Linked DNA regions of Homo sapiens: region 1 is linked to region 2. Evidence: promoter capture Hi-C in human tissues and cell types (Jung and others, 2019). All regions are on one chromosome and are shown on one strand. Each heading gives the region's core, a stretch centred on a gene start or on the middle of the fragment in contact. The rest is flanking DNA. Distances are from core to core; before and after follow the strand shown. Region 1 holds the start of BPTF (bromodomain PHD finger transcription factor). Region 2 holds the start of PITPNC1 (phosphatidylinositol transfer protein cytoplasmic 1).

Region 1 (5,964 bases), core at 3,201-5,700, 450 kb after region 2:
GGTGGGTGGATGGCTTGAGCCCGGCAGGTGGAGGTTGCAGTGAGCCAAGATCGCGCCACTGCACTCCAGCCTGGGTGACAGAGCGAGACCATTTCTTGAAAAAAAAAAAAAAAAGTTATGCAAAACACCTCTCATTCCATCTATTGTACACTTTTTGTAAATAATTTTGCTTTACTATTCAATTATAAATTTTGAAGGGTATTCCCACTTCTAATATCTTTGTATTCCCTATAATACATAGCATACTTATTTAATTTTAGAGCTGGGGATCTCACTATGTTGCCTCAAACTACTGGGCTCAAGTGATCCTCTCACCTCAGCCTTCCAAAGTGCTGGGATTACAGGTATGAGCCACCGCACCTGGCAGTACATAGCATTTTACACACTATGTAGGATATACATTGCAAACTAGTAGACTCTGGGCTATATCCAAACTGCCTATTTTTTATTTATTTTTTCTTTTTTGAGATGGAGTCTTGCTGTGTCGTCCAGGCTAGAGTGCAGTGGCACGATCTCGGCTGACTGCAACCTCCACCTCCTGGGTTCAAGCAATTCTCCTGCCTCCCTAGTAGCTGGGATTGCAGGTGCACAGCGCCACGCCCAGCTAATTTTTGTACTTTTAGTGGAGACGGGGTTTCACCATGTTGGCCAGAATGGTCTCAAACTCCTGACCTCAGGTGATCAACCCACCCTAGACTCCCATAGTGTTGGGATTACAGGTGTGAGCCACCACACCGGGCCAAGACTGCTTATATTTTTATCAATCTGTAGTGTTTTGTTCTGAGACAGGGTCCTGCTCTGTCACACATGCTGGAGTGCAATATAAACATATATTAATATTTATTGAAATAAATGACTACCAAAAAGTAATTTAAAGAAAAATAGTTGTCTGGGCATGGTGGCTCACACCTTCAATCCCAGCCCTTTGAGAGACCGAGGCCAGAGAATAGCTTGAGGCCAGGAGTTCGAGACCAGCCCGCGCAACATAGTGGGACCTTGTCTCTAGAAAAAATTTGAAAATTAGCTGGGCATGGTGGTGCGCGCCTGTGGTCCCAGCTGCCCGGGAGGCTGAGGTGAGAGGATTGCTTGAGCCTGGGAGGTGGACGTTGCAGTGAGCTGCGATTGCATCACTTCACTCTAGCCTGGGTGACAGAGCAAAACCCCGTCTCAAAATTTAAAAAGAAAGAAAGAAAAGAAAGGAAACCTAACAGGATTCTGATTCTGTCCACCAAATGGCTTATTTCTTTTTTCTTTTTTTGAGACAGAGTCTCACTTTGTCGCCCAGGCTGGAGTACAGTGGTGCGATCTTGGCTCACTGCAACCTCCGTCTCCTGGGTTCAAGCGATTCTCCTGTCTCAGCCTCCAGAGTAGCTGGGATTACAGGCAAGTGCCACCACGTCCAGCTAATTTTTGTATTTTTAGTAGAGATGGGGTTGTACCATGTTGGTCAGGCTGATCTCGAACCCCTGACCTCAGGTGATCCGCCCGCCTCATCCTTCCAAAGTGCTGGGATTACAGGCATGAGCCACTGCGCCTGGTGGCTTATTTCAATCTAGATAGGAAAATATAACACATATGTGAAATGAAAAAATACAAGCACTAATTGCCAAATAAATGTATTCAATATAATTTGGTTGAGCACTATGGGTGACAAATCTGTATATGCCTCCAGGAACCAGGTAAGTAATGAAAGTCAACAAAGTAGGGGAAGATGAGGACTTGGCCAATGGAAGTGCCCCCCGCTTTTTTTTTTTTAGACAGACTTTCGCTCTGTTGCCCAGGCTGGAGTGCAGTGGTGTGATCTGCACTCACTACAACCTCCACCTCCCAGGTTAAGCGATTCTCCTGCCTCAGTCTTACAAATAGCTGGGACTACCGGTGCTCCATCACACCTGGCTAGTTTTTAGTAGAGACAGGGTTTCACCATGTTGACCAGGCTGGTCTCGAACTTCCGCCCTCAAGTGATCTGCCTGCCTTTGCCTCCCAAAGTGCTGGGATTACAGGCATGAGCCACCACGCCCGGCCCTGGCCCCGTATTTTGTTTAAAGAGGGTGGCTGGGCACAGTGGCTGTAGCTTGTAATCCCAGCACTTTGGGAGGGAGGCGGGTGGATTGCTTGAGCTTAGGAGTTTGCAGTGAACCAAGATCGCTGGGATATGCATATTTAAGGTTTCAATTTTTGTGTCTCCAAATAAAATTCTCAGTTCCTCACTACCTTTTTTTTTTTTTTGAGATAGAGTCTTGCTGTGTCACCCAGACTGGAGTCCAGTGGCACGATCTTGGCTCACTGCAGCCTCTGCCTCCTGGGTTTAAGCGATTCTCCTGTCCGCTTCCCAAGTAGTTGGGATTACACGCATGAGCCACCATGCCCAGCTAATTTTTGTATTTTTAGTAGACAGGATTTCACCATGTTGCCCAGGATAATCTCGAACTCCTGGGCTCAAGTGATCCGCCCACCTGGCCTCCTCAAGTGCTGGGATTACAGGCCTGAGCCACCGTGCCTGACCACCCTCTTCAAACAAAATATGGGCACCTCCATTGGCCTAGGTCTTCATCTTGCCTACTTTATTGACTTACATTACTTACCTGGTCCCTGGAGACATATACACATTTGTCACCCTTAGAGCTCGACCAAATTGTATTGAATGCATTTCTCTGGCAATTAGTGCTTGTATTTTAATTTTCATTTCACATATGTGTTCCATTTTCCTAACAAGACTGAAATAAGCCATTTGGTATGCAGAATTCTGTTAGATATTTTTATTTTTATTTTTTTGAGACGGAGTCTTGCTTTGTTGCCAGGCTGGAGTGCAGTGGTGCGATCTCGGCTCACTGCAACCTCCACCTCCCAGGCTCAAGCGATTCTTCTGCCTCAGCCTCTGGAGTAGCTGGGACTACAGGCACGCACCACCACGCCTGGCTAACTTTTGTATTTTTAGTACAGAACTTTTGCATTTTTAGTAGAGATGGGGTTTCACCATATTGGCCAGGCTGGTCTCAAACTCCTGCCCTGGTGATCCGCCCTCCTCAGCCTCCCAAAGTGCTGGGATTACAGGCGTGAGCCACCGCGCCCAGCATCTTTTTTAAAAAAAATTGAGACAGGGTCTTGCTCTGTCACCCAAGCTGGAGTGCAGTGGTGCAATCACGGCTCACTGCAACATCCACCTCCCAGGCTCAAGCAATCCTCCCACCTCAGCCTCTCGCTAGCTGGGACCACAGGTGCACACCACCATGCCCGGCTAATTTTTCAAATTTTTTCTAAAGACGAGGTCCTGCTATGTTGCCCAGGCTGGTCTTGAACTCTTGACCTCAAGCTATCATCCGGCCTTGGCCTCTCAAAGGACTGGGATTGCAGGTGTGAGCTACCACGCCCGGCCAACTATTTTTCTTTAAATTACTTTTCGGTTGTCACTTCTCTCAATAAATATTCATATGTTTATAACACCTTTCTCTTATCTAAAGAGCTGACCTCAACCACTCAGGGTTGAGTCGCTGTGATAAGGTTTGAGGGTGCCTGAAATGTCATCATGATTCGTCCTTTGGGCTAAGCTGAAACCTAGTGACTTGTCAGGTCAATAAATTAAGGTTATTTCCCGATAATACAAACATTTAACACCGTGAAGTAGGTTTTAGGCAGGATTCCCTCTTTTCCACTGCAAAGGAGAGGTAAGTTCTTGCTGAGGTGATCGAAGTCCTAGCTGGGGCACTGGGAAGGTGGCGGGACATTGGAACGTGCAGTAGTTGCGTTCTGGAGTTTACTGAGGCTTTCCCAGTGCGGATTCCACGCTACAGGTCTTAGGGCGCCCCTCCCTCCGGGCGTGGCAGCCCGGGGCGTGGCTCCTGGCACAGATCCGGAGCAGTTGTCATTGGAGTCATTTTCTGGACTCCAGCTCCATGCTTCAGAGTTTCCTAAGTTCAGGGGGCTTGTCTCTCTGTCCCCTCGACTAATTTCCCTCTGTCGCTGGCGCTGCCCGGTGCCCTCGGTCGCTTGGGCCGCCCCTCTCCGCGACTTTTTTTTTTCTTTCTCTCGCTGGCTCTTTCAGCATCAGTTTCCATAGGGGGAGGGAAGGGAATGATATTTGGGGGCTCCCTTGCCTTCCTCTCCGAGCCGCGAAAGGGGAGACGCGGGGAGGAGGTCCGGCCGGCTTTGGGCTCCAGCCAGCGGTCCGCGGAGACTTTGGTCTCCGAAGGCCTTTGACGCCGGGCATTTCGCGAGCTGCGCGCCCCTCTCAGCCGCGCCACCTGCGCCCGGAGTTTTGCCGCGCCACCCGCGCCCGGAGTCCAGCCGCACCGCGCTGTGCCGAGCCCAGGCGCCCAGGGCTCCCCGCCCCCGACTCGACGCTCCCGCGCTCCCCCTAGCGGCCGCCGCGCCGCTTCGCTCCGTCCCAGGCTCGTCGGCGGCGCAGCTCACGTGACCGCGCTCTGGGCCTGCGGCCGCTGTCGGTTCCCCCAGTCACCGAGCGAGAGGGAAGAAACAAGATGGCGGCTGAAGGCGATCCGGAGTGGGGCCCCAGCAATTCGGATTGAGCCTTCTCCCTCCACCCGCTTCCGTCGGCCGGGCCCCTCCCGCCCGGCCCCGCGGGCCTCCCCACCCGGCCCCGGCGCTCCCCACCGCCCCCCCTGCGCCCGCCCCTCCCCCTTCGCTTTCCTTCTCCCCCCGCCTCGGCTCCGACATGAGGGGCCGGCGGGGCAGGCCGCCCAAGCAGCCCGCGGCTCCCGCTGCGGAGCGCTGCGCCCCGGCCCCGCCGCCACCGCCGCCGCCGCCCACGTCCGGACCCATCGGGGGGCTCCGCTCGCGGCACCGCGGCAGCAGCCGGGGCAGGTGGGCCGCCGCCCAGGCTGAGGTGGCGCCCAAGACGCGGCTGAGCTCGCCCAGGGGGGGCAGCAGTAGCCGGAGGAAGCCGCCGCCGCCGCCGCCGGCCCCCCCCAGCACCAGCGCCCCGGGCCGGGGGGGGCGAGGAGGCGGGGGCGGCAGGACGGGGGGCGGGGGCGGCGGCGGCCACCTGGCCCGGACCACCGCGGCCCGGAGGGCCGTCAACAAAGTGGTGTACGATGACCACGAGAGCGAGGAGGAGGAGGAAGAGGAGGACATGGTCTCCGAGGAGGAGGAGGAGGAGGACGGCGACGCCGAGGAGACCCAGGATTCTGAGGACGACGAGGAGGATGAGATGGAAGAGGACGACGATGACTCCGATTATCCGGAGGAGATGGAAGACGACGACGACGACGCCAGTTACTGCACGGAAAGCAGCTTCAGGAGCCATAGTACCTACAGCAGCACTCCAGGTACCCACCCAGCCCAGTTGCTGCAGACTCCTTCCCCACCTCCTCTGCCCTCCCCCCTTGCTCACTCGTGTGCTGTGCATCCTGCTCCGATCTCCCCCCAACCCCGCCTCCCCCCCAAACAGAGGGGAAATGCGACGGCACATCAAGTGGCAAAAAACTAGATTTACAAGAGGAAAGAGGCGCATTGTTCAAAATGGAGATTGCATTGTTGCAGTTTGCAGGCCACACTCGCTCGCTCTCTCTCCCCCCCCCAACCCCCTTTTTTTCCTCTTCAAAATTTGTGCCAGTGCAGTGTCTCCACCGGGCAGGATTGAAACTTTGGCAAACACATATCCATTGCATTCATTTTTCTCCCCTTGTTTTGGTGTGGTTTTCTGGAATGAAAGAAGCCTCTTGTTTTGCAAACCTCTTTGCATTTCTAATGTGGTTTCTTTCGGATTTTTATTATATATCTGTTACTTAAAAGGGAATTAAGGATTTGGACAGATTGTGGTACACAAACACGCACAAAAAAATGCGTTTTCACACCCCTAGCTGTGGTTTTAAAATTGTGTTAAGGAAACGGATCATTTGGGTTAGTAGGGGAACCTTATCTGGTCCTGTGTGTTTGTTTTTATTCTTCGAGTGCTAATGGGCCCGTGCAACAGTTGCTGTTAAATGGCTGATTAAAAAGCAACGC
Region 2 (6,976 bases), core at 517-3,016:
CCCAGCACTTTGGGAGGCCGAGGCCATCACCTGAGCTCAGGAGTTTGAGACCAGCCTGACCAACATGGTGAAACTCCATCTCTACTAAAAATACAAAATTAGCCAGGCGTGGTGGCCGGTGCCTGTAATCCCAGCTACTCCAGAGGCTGAGGCAGAAGACTTGCTTGAACCCGGGAGGTGGAGGTTGCAGTGAGCCGAGATCATGCCATTGCACTCCAGCCTGGGCAACAAGAGCGAAACTCCATCACAAACCAATAACAGCAACAAGACGGATGATGGAGGAAGCATATATGTGACAATTTACAGTTCGGGAAATTCAGAGAAGTAGCTCCTCAACAGTGTCACCCGTCAGTAGAATACTTCCTTCCAGAATCAGTGTCAGGAAATGTCCAGGAAGCCAGGAACTGAGCCTACACATCCCGATGTCCCAAGTGCATGCGCATGTGTGGCTAGCCAATCCCTTGCCTTCCTGCCTCTGGGAAGATTATTAGGTCTTCCATTTGTTTTCAAGTAAGAAGCAAAAAAAAAAAAAAAAAAAGGAAAAACAGCTTGAGTTTCTTTCCATATCACAGCCTTCCAATGTGTTATTATTCAACACTGCAGTGTCAGATTTAGATTTTCCACCTCGAGGAATTTGGTTTAGCTTTAATTAGTTGCTGTGAATATTTCTGAGCCAACTCTGGAAAGCATTTATCTGGAAAATAGTTTCCACTAAAATATAAGCTGGATATAGGGTATCATTTTCCTAGGAGGGTTTGTATCAGTTAACAGTTATAAATTCTCTCCAGCCCTCTGGATGACTTTTGCCACAAGCCCATCATCGTCATATTGGTTAATTACTTATTAATTAAACACAATTCAAAATACTGTATTGAGGCATCTGCATCGCCATCTAAGCTCTAGCTTCAGGACTTCAGAGCGTGAAGATTTTTCGGAGAAAAGATAACGCTTACAGGTTATTCTCATACAGGCAACTGATGCATTTTTCATCCGGCAACTTTTCATAAAAACAAGCTGAAAAATACCAGACAAATGAAAAACAGACTTCAGCAGTTCCATGCTGCTTCCTGAGTAACTGAAGAATGTGCTTCTTGTGGTTAAAATGAGAGATCTGTTTAATATGGATCAAATAGCAACACTCCAGGCATTTTCATTGACATTTCACTGTGACTTTTTGAACTTAGGAGTGCGGATACGAAAACCTACTCTTTCTTTCTGCTGCGCGGAGCCTGCACAATCTGCAGAAAGATTGCAGAGCCGGGCCAGGCGAGGTAACAGGCTACGTGGGGTTCATGTTCTCTCTGGTTGTTCCCTCCCCGTTTGTACTTCATTTCCATTCACACGGCTGCACTTCCCAGTTTTCCAGGATCTCTCCTCTGAAACCAGGCAAGGGTTTGTTCCCAAATCCCACCCATTGCCTCTCCAGCCCCAGACTTGCTTACTGGACCACACATAGGTGGTGGGCATTGGTGACTTGTCCCTAGGGTCAGGGGACCAGAAACTTCCCAGAGGGGCTGGATGGAGCACGGCAGCACTCAGGGCACAATGGAGAGCGGATTCAAAGGGCAAAGGAGCCGAGGAAAGCCCCTCTGCCCGAGCCTCCCCAGCGCCGGCCGGGCTCCGCTCCGGAGCAGCCCCGCCGTCTGGCAGAGACATGCTGTTTTGTTTAAATCCTCCACATTCTTTGCCATTTCCCCATTGGCCGGATGGGGCTACCCTCCCCGCCGCGGCCGCTGCTGATGTCAGCCTCGCTCGCGCTCGCTCCTCCCGCACCCACCTCCCGGCCCCAGGCACACTGCATCGGCGCGGACGCTCCGGCCCCGGCGAGGTGGCTGCAAACTCGCGGGCACGCACGGCGCCCGGGGAGCCGAGGGACTCGGGGGAGGGGACGCGCGCGGAAGGCGCCAGCTTCCTCCCGCCCGCCCCTGGCAGCCGCGAGCCGAGGTTGGAGGCGCCCGGGGCCCCAGCCGGGCAGAGCCGAGCGGCGGCGGCGGCGGCGGCTTCCCTTTTCTCCCCGAGCCGAGCCCCGGAGCGGCGCGGGGACCGGCCCTAAAAAGAGCAGGAAATCTTGTTTACCGCCCGCGGAGAGAAGCCGATCGAGCCTTTGTCTGGAAAGTCAGCATCTCCGGCTCCGGCTGCAATGTGTTCCTGGTGACATTAGCATCGGGCAGACCCGCCGGAGGAGGGGGGTCGCCAGGTTCCCGTCTGCTTTCGGAGGCGGATCGAGCGGGTGACTTTTGTGCATTCGTTTTAATTTTTGGAAATCTCTCTTTTTTCCTCCCTCGCTCGCTGCCGGGCATGTCCTGATCTGGCGGCCGCTCCTACCACCCTGGGCAGCCGAGCAGAGTCGTCCCCAGCGGGTCTCCCTCCCTGCCTCCCTGACTTTGCAACACCGCGTTCCGGGAGGACCGGCCTCGGCGAGGGAGGAGGCGGGGGAGCTGCGAACACCCAGACCCAAACCCTGACATGCTCTGGGGCGGAGAGGAGGAAGCCAGGAGCTGAGCGCGCCGCGGGGGCTGCTTCGCCCTCCGGCTCCGAGCGCCGGGCTCCGGGCGCCCTGCCCTGCGCCTGGGCAGCAGCCTTGCTGGTCTTGGGGGCGCCCCCCGCTTCCCGCCCCGGGGGTCCGCGGCCGGCAGGACCATGCTGCTGAAAGAGTACCGGATCTGCATGCCGCTCACCGTAGACGAGGTAAGCGCCGCGCCCGGCCCGGCCTCGCCCGCTCCGGGACCCCCGCCGCTACCGCCGCCTCCTGGCCGGCGAGCCCCGGGCGAGCGGCAGGAAACCCAGGTGGACGTTACCCCGCAAACCCGAAGCCTGGAGGAGAGGAGGGAGGGGATTTGCGGCTTCCACTTGTCACCCCAGCGGGGGAGGGCGGCGCTGGGTGGGGCGGCGGACTCCGGGTGGGCTTTTCGGGGGCGCCCAGAATCCAGACTGTTGGGGATCACTATGAGCCAAAGGGAGTGGGTGCGCCCCCTCCCTCCAAATAAGAAAATGAATAAACCAAACCCAAGAGCCCCCGGCGCGCGCTGTAGCTGGGGTTTGGGGGGCATCCCGTCCTGGCCGTGGGCCCAGCCTCCCCTCCCCGCCCTCTGCGGTCAGGTAGGGGTGCGAGGAGGAGCCCTGCGCCCTCGGGATCTGCACGCCCCGAGCCCCGCGGGAGGAACCTCTGAGCCCTTAGGGGAGGTCCCTGCGGGGCCCGACTTCTCGCCGTCGCCGCGGGCTTGGGCGCAGCTCCCGGCACGTCCGCCCTTCGAGGCTCGGGACCCGGCTGTGTCCTTTCGCAAACCGCCTGGCTCGGAAACTTTCTGCGTCTCTTGTTTCTTCCGCCGCGGGGAGCGGCGCGCGAGCCGGGAGCGGCGGGGGCTGCGACGCGGCCACAGGAGGGCGCTCCAGCACGTGGTGCCGGGGCCGCGGCTGCCGGCTGGGGGCGCCGGGCGCGGGGCGGGGGCTCGTCCTCCAAGCGCGGCTCTGCTGTCCTTCTCCCGATCCTGCGAAGCCGCGAGCTCCAGTATTCAGGAAGTGGTGACTCAGATAGGATTATTCCGGCCCCGGCTTCCCTTTCTTCCCCTTCTTCCTCCCCACCTTTGTGGTGATTCCACGACTGCTGAGCGTCTCTGTCCAGGGACAGCGAGGGAGCCCAAAGCCAAGCAAGGCAACGTGAAACTCACTAGTGTGGTTTGGTGTGGCAACACACATGAAATCAGCCACCCAGACCGTCTTTATATTTAAATCTGGTGCCTCGAAACTATCAGATATGTTTTTGAGCCACTACTTGGTGAGAGGGGCGATGTGCTTTGGGAGAGAAAAAGATGCATAACTGAGAACATGGCTGAGCTCACAGGGGCTGTCCGTATTTGCCATCTGGACCAAGGGTTAAGGTAAGACCCAAGTACAATCCAAGACAAGATCAAAGTAGCTGCAAGTTTACAAAACGCATCACGGGGACACAGGCTGCCAAGGAGGGAGAGATCAGCTTCCACCAGAATGAACAACCGAGTTTTGGAGTTCGTTGGCATTTGAGGAGGTAGCATTTAAGCAGGGTCTGGAAGGGTGGATGCCAGGTGGGTAGACAGAGATTCGAGTTGCATATGACCTTGTAAGTGGAGAAGCAGGACATAGCTTTGTGGAGAAAGAGAAGGGCAAATGAATGGGACTGGTTAATAGGAGTCTTTCCAGAAAAGGTGGAGATTGTCCCACCTTGTGGGCAGTTGAGCTAGAGTAATTCAGCTGGGAGGCATGGATCCCTCTACTCCATATCCTAATGACCTTGTTTTTTGATATGAGTTTGGATTCTAGGAGCAATGTTGGGACTGCATGAAATACACAGAAAATTGCAGGTGATAATCAAGAAAAGAACCAGTTCTAGAATCTTCTCTACTAACTACAAAATCTCTTTATCCTAGTTGGTTCCCTTTTCAGGCTTTCTGAAACACTCAGGCAGATGCTTTTCCCACTTTTGTTTTTGTACCGAAATACCCACAGGTATACCGTGGGGTAATTACATTTGAATGATATAGGTGGAGGCCCTTCCTTCCTTCCTTCCTTTTTTTTGTCTTTTCTTTTCTTTTTTTTTTTTTTGAGATGGAGCCTTGTTATGTTGCCCAGGGTGGGGCGCAATGGCGAGATCTCGGCTCACTGCAACCTCCGCCACCTGGATTCAAGCAATTCTCCTGCCTCAGCCTCCTGAGTAGCTGAGATTACAGGTGCCTGCCACCACGTCTGGCTAATTTTTGTATTTTTAGTAGAGACGGGGTTTCACCATGTTGGCCAGGCTGGTCTTGAATGCCTGACCTCAGGCAATCCGCCTGCCTCAGCCTCCCAAAGTGCTGGGATTACAGGCATGAGCCACTGCGCCCAGCCAGCCCTTCCTTTCTTAATTGGCCAACAAAATCAGACTCATCAGACTCCACCTGTAATATAATTATAAATTCTTTAATGTATAATTCATTTTGGCCAAAGTATGATTCAGTTTCTGTAAGGTTCATATTCTGAAGTCATTTTCGGCTTTGTCAGAGAAGCAGGAGGGCAATTTAGATTAATAGATGTTTCCAATTAGTAGGATTCAGATTAGCTAAATCTGATGATGGATGAAGAAATGAGGCCTAGTTTGCCAGATGTTAAACCCCTAGAGTCAGAACTGATAGTAAATTCCACAGTCTCCACCATCCCCTTTTCCACTGACCCTTTTTCCACATTGAAAATGAGGAAGCAACTTGAGTTTCTTTAAATAAGATGTTTAGGTAAACTTTGGAAGCCTAACTTTTTTTTTTTCTTTTTGAGACACGGTCTCGCTCTGTCATCCAGGCTGGAGTGCAGTGGCGTGATCCTAGTTCACTGCAGCCTCCATCTCCTGGGCTCAAGTGATCCTCCCATCTCAGCCTCCTGAGTAGCTGGGACAATAGGTGTGTGCTGCCAACCCGGCTAATTTTTTTACTTTTTGTAGAGACAGGGACTCGCTGTGTTGCCCAGGCTGGTCTTGAACTCCTGAGCTTGAGTGATCCTCCTGCCTCAGCCTTTTAAAGTGCTGGGATTGCCGGGTGCGGTGGCTCACGCCTGTAATCCCAGCACTTGGGGAGGCTGAGGTGGGCAGATCACGAGGTCAGGAGATCGAGACCATCCTGGCTAACACAGTGAAACCCCGTCTCTACTAAAAATACAAAAAAATTAAGCAGGCCTGGTGGCGGGCGCCTGTAGTCCTAGCTACTTGGGACGCTGAGGCAGTAGAATGGCGTGAACCTGGGAGGCGGAGCTTGCAGTGAGCTGAGATCACGCCACTGCACTCCAGCCTGGGCGACAGAACAAGACTCCACTCAAAAAAAAAAAAAAAAAAAAGGGCTGGGATTACAGGCATGAGCCACTGCGCCCGGCCTGGGAGCCTAACTTTTGCTTCCACTCTTGGTTGGCTCTGGGCCTGATTCAACCTACATGGAACTTCTGGAACTTGTTTCTCTCTCTTTTTTTTTTTTTTTTGAGACGGAATCTCCCTCTGTCTCCCAGGCTGGAGCGCAGTGGTGCAATCTCAGCTCACTGCAAGGTCCACCTCCCGGGTTCACGCGAGTCTCCTGCCTCAGCCTCCCGAGTAGCTGGGACTACAGGCGCCAGCCACCGCACCCTGCTAATTTTTTGTATTTTTAGTAGAGACGGGGTTTCACCGTGTTAGCCAGGATGGTCTCAATCTCCTGACCTCGCGATCCGCCCGCCTTGGCCTCCCAAAGGCGTGAGCCACCGCGCCCGGCCTACTTGTTTCTCTTTAATCACCAGAGTTCATTGGTAGCAGTGTCCATACTTTTGAAAATGAAGCAAATGCTCATGCTTTGAAGAATCAGTGAGAGAACCCACACTTTGCCTGCTTCTTGTGCCTGGCCTTATCCCTTCTCCCTCATTTAACACTCTGGTGGTGGCGGGCGGTGGAGCATTAGTGGCACTGGTGTGTTATTATCTATATTTTGCAGATGAATACATTGAGATTCAGAAGGGTTAGGTAATGTGCTCCAGGCCACACAACTAGTTAATAGCCAAGCCAGAAGGAGAGCATGGTGAAACCCATTATTTGTTTTTCCTTACTCTGCTTTTTGCCTGTCACTAGTGTTTAATCCAGCAAAAGGAAAAACATTTCTTGAAAACAGATAAAGTCAGCACTATCAAGTAAATGAAAAATCAGAGGCCTTTTGACTTGCTATAGACGGTACTGGCCTCTACTATTTCTCTAGCTTTATTTTAACACATAAAATGTTCTCTAGTTCCAGGAAAAAAGAACAGCTCTGGGCGATCAAGAAAATAAAGCTGAACTACTGTCTAGATTAGAGTGTTGGTGGGGTTTTTTGGTGTGTGTGTGTGTGTGTGTGTGTGTGTGTGTGTTTTAGACATTAATTTCAGAGTAAAGAATTAATAAAAGTAACATTCCATAGATTAATTTTAATTAAAACATTTCATTGGAATAGTCCCTCGTTTGTGTTAAATGTGGTGGTCTCTGAAC

The links. Contacts are between HindIII fragments. The study calls those that stand out against the background at their distance.
Region 1: a contact is called between the fragment with the promoter of BPTF here and the fragment with the promoter of PITPNC1 in region 2, in 2 of the 25 tissues and cell types used here (lymphoblastoid cells and spleen).

The regions. Positions count from the first base shown.
Region 1 is chr17:67,821,053-67,827,016 of GRCh38, forward strand. It overlaps BPTF (bromodomain PHD finger transcription factor), which reads left to right and starts at 4,451. Exons shown (of 28, transcript NM_182641.4): 1 at 4,451-5,285. The coding sequence starts at 4,673. RefSeq lists enhancers at 3,699-4,396, 4,397-5,092, 5,055-5,324 and silencers at 4,305-4,374, 4,575-4,624, 4,805-5,004. The HindIII fragment of the contact is 39,315 bases long and covers 1-5,964 here.
Region 2 is chr17:67,375,515-67,382,490 of GRCh38, forward strand. It overlaps PITPNC1 (phosphatidylinositol transfer protein cytoplasmic 1), which reads left to right and starts at 1,767. Exons shown (of 9, transcript NM_012417.4): 1 at 1,767-2,688. The coding sequence starts at 2,641. RefSeq lists an enhancer at 1,573-2,266 and silencers at 1,652-1,771, 1,822-2,071, 2,422-2,841, 2,852-3,151, 3,262-3,621. The HindIII fragment of the contact is 14,929 bases long and covers 999-6,976 here.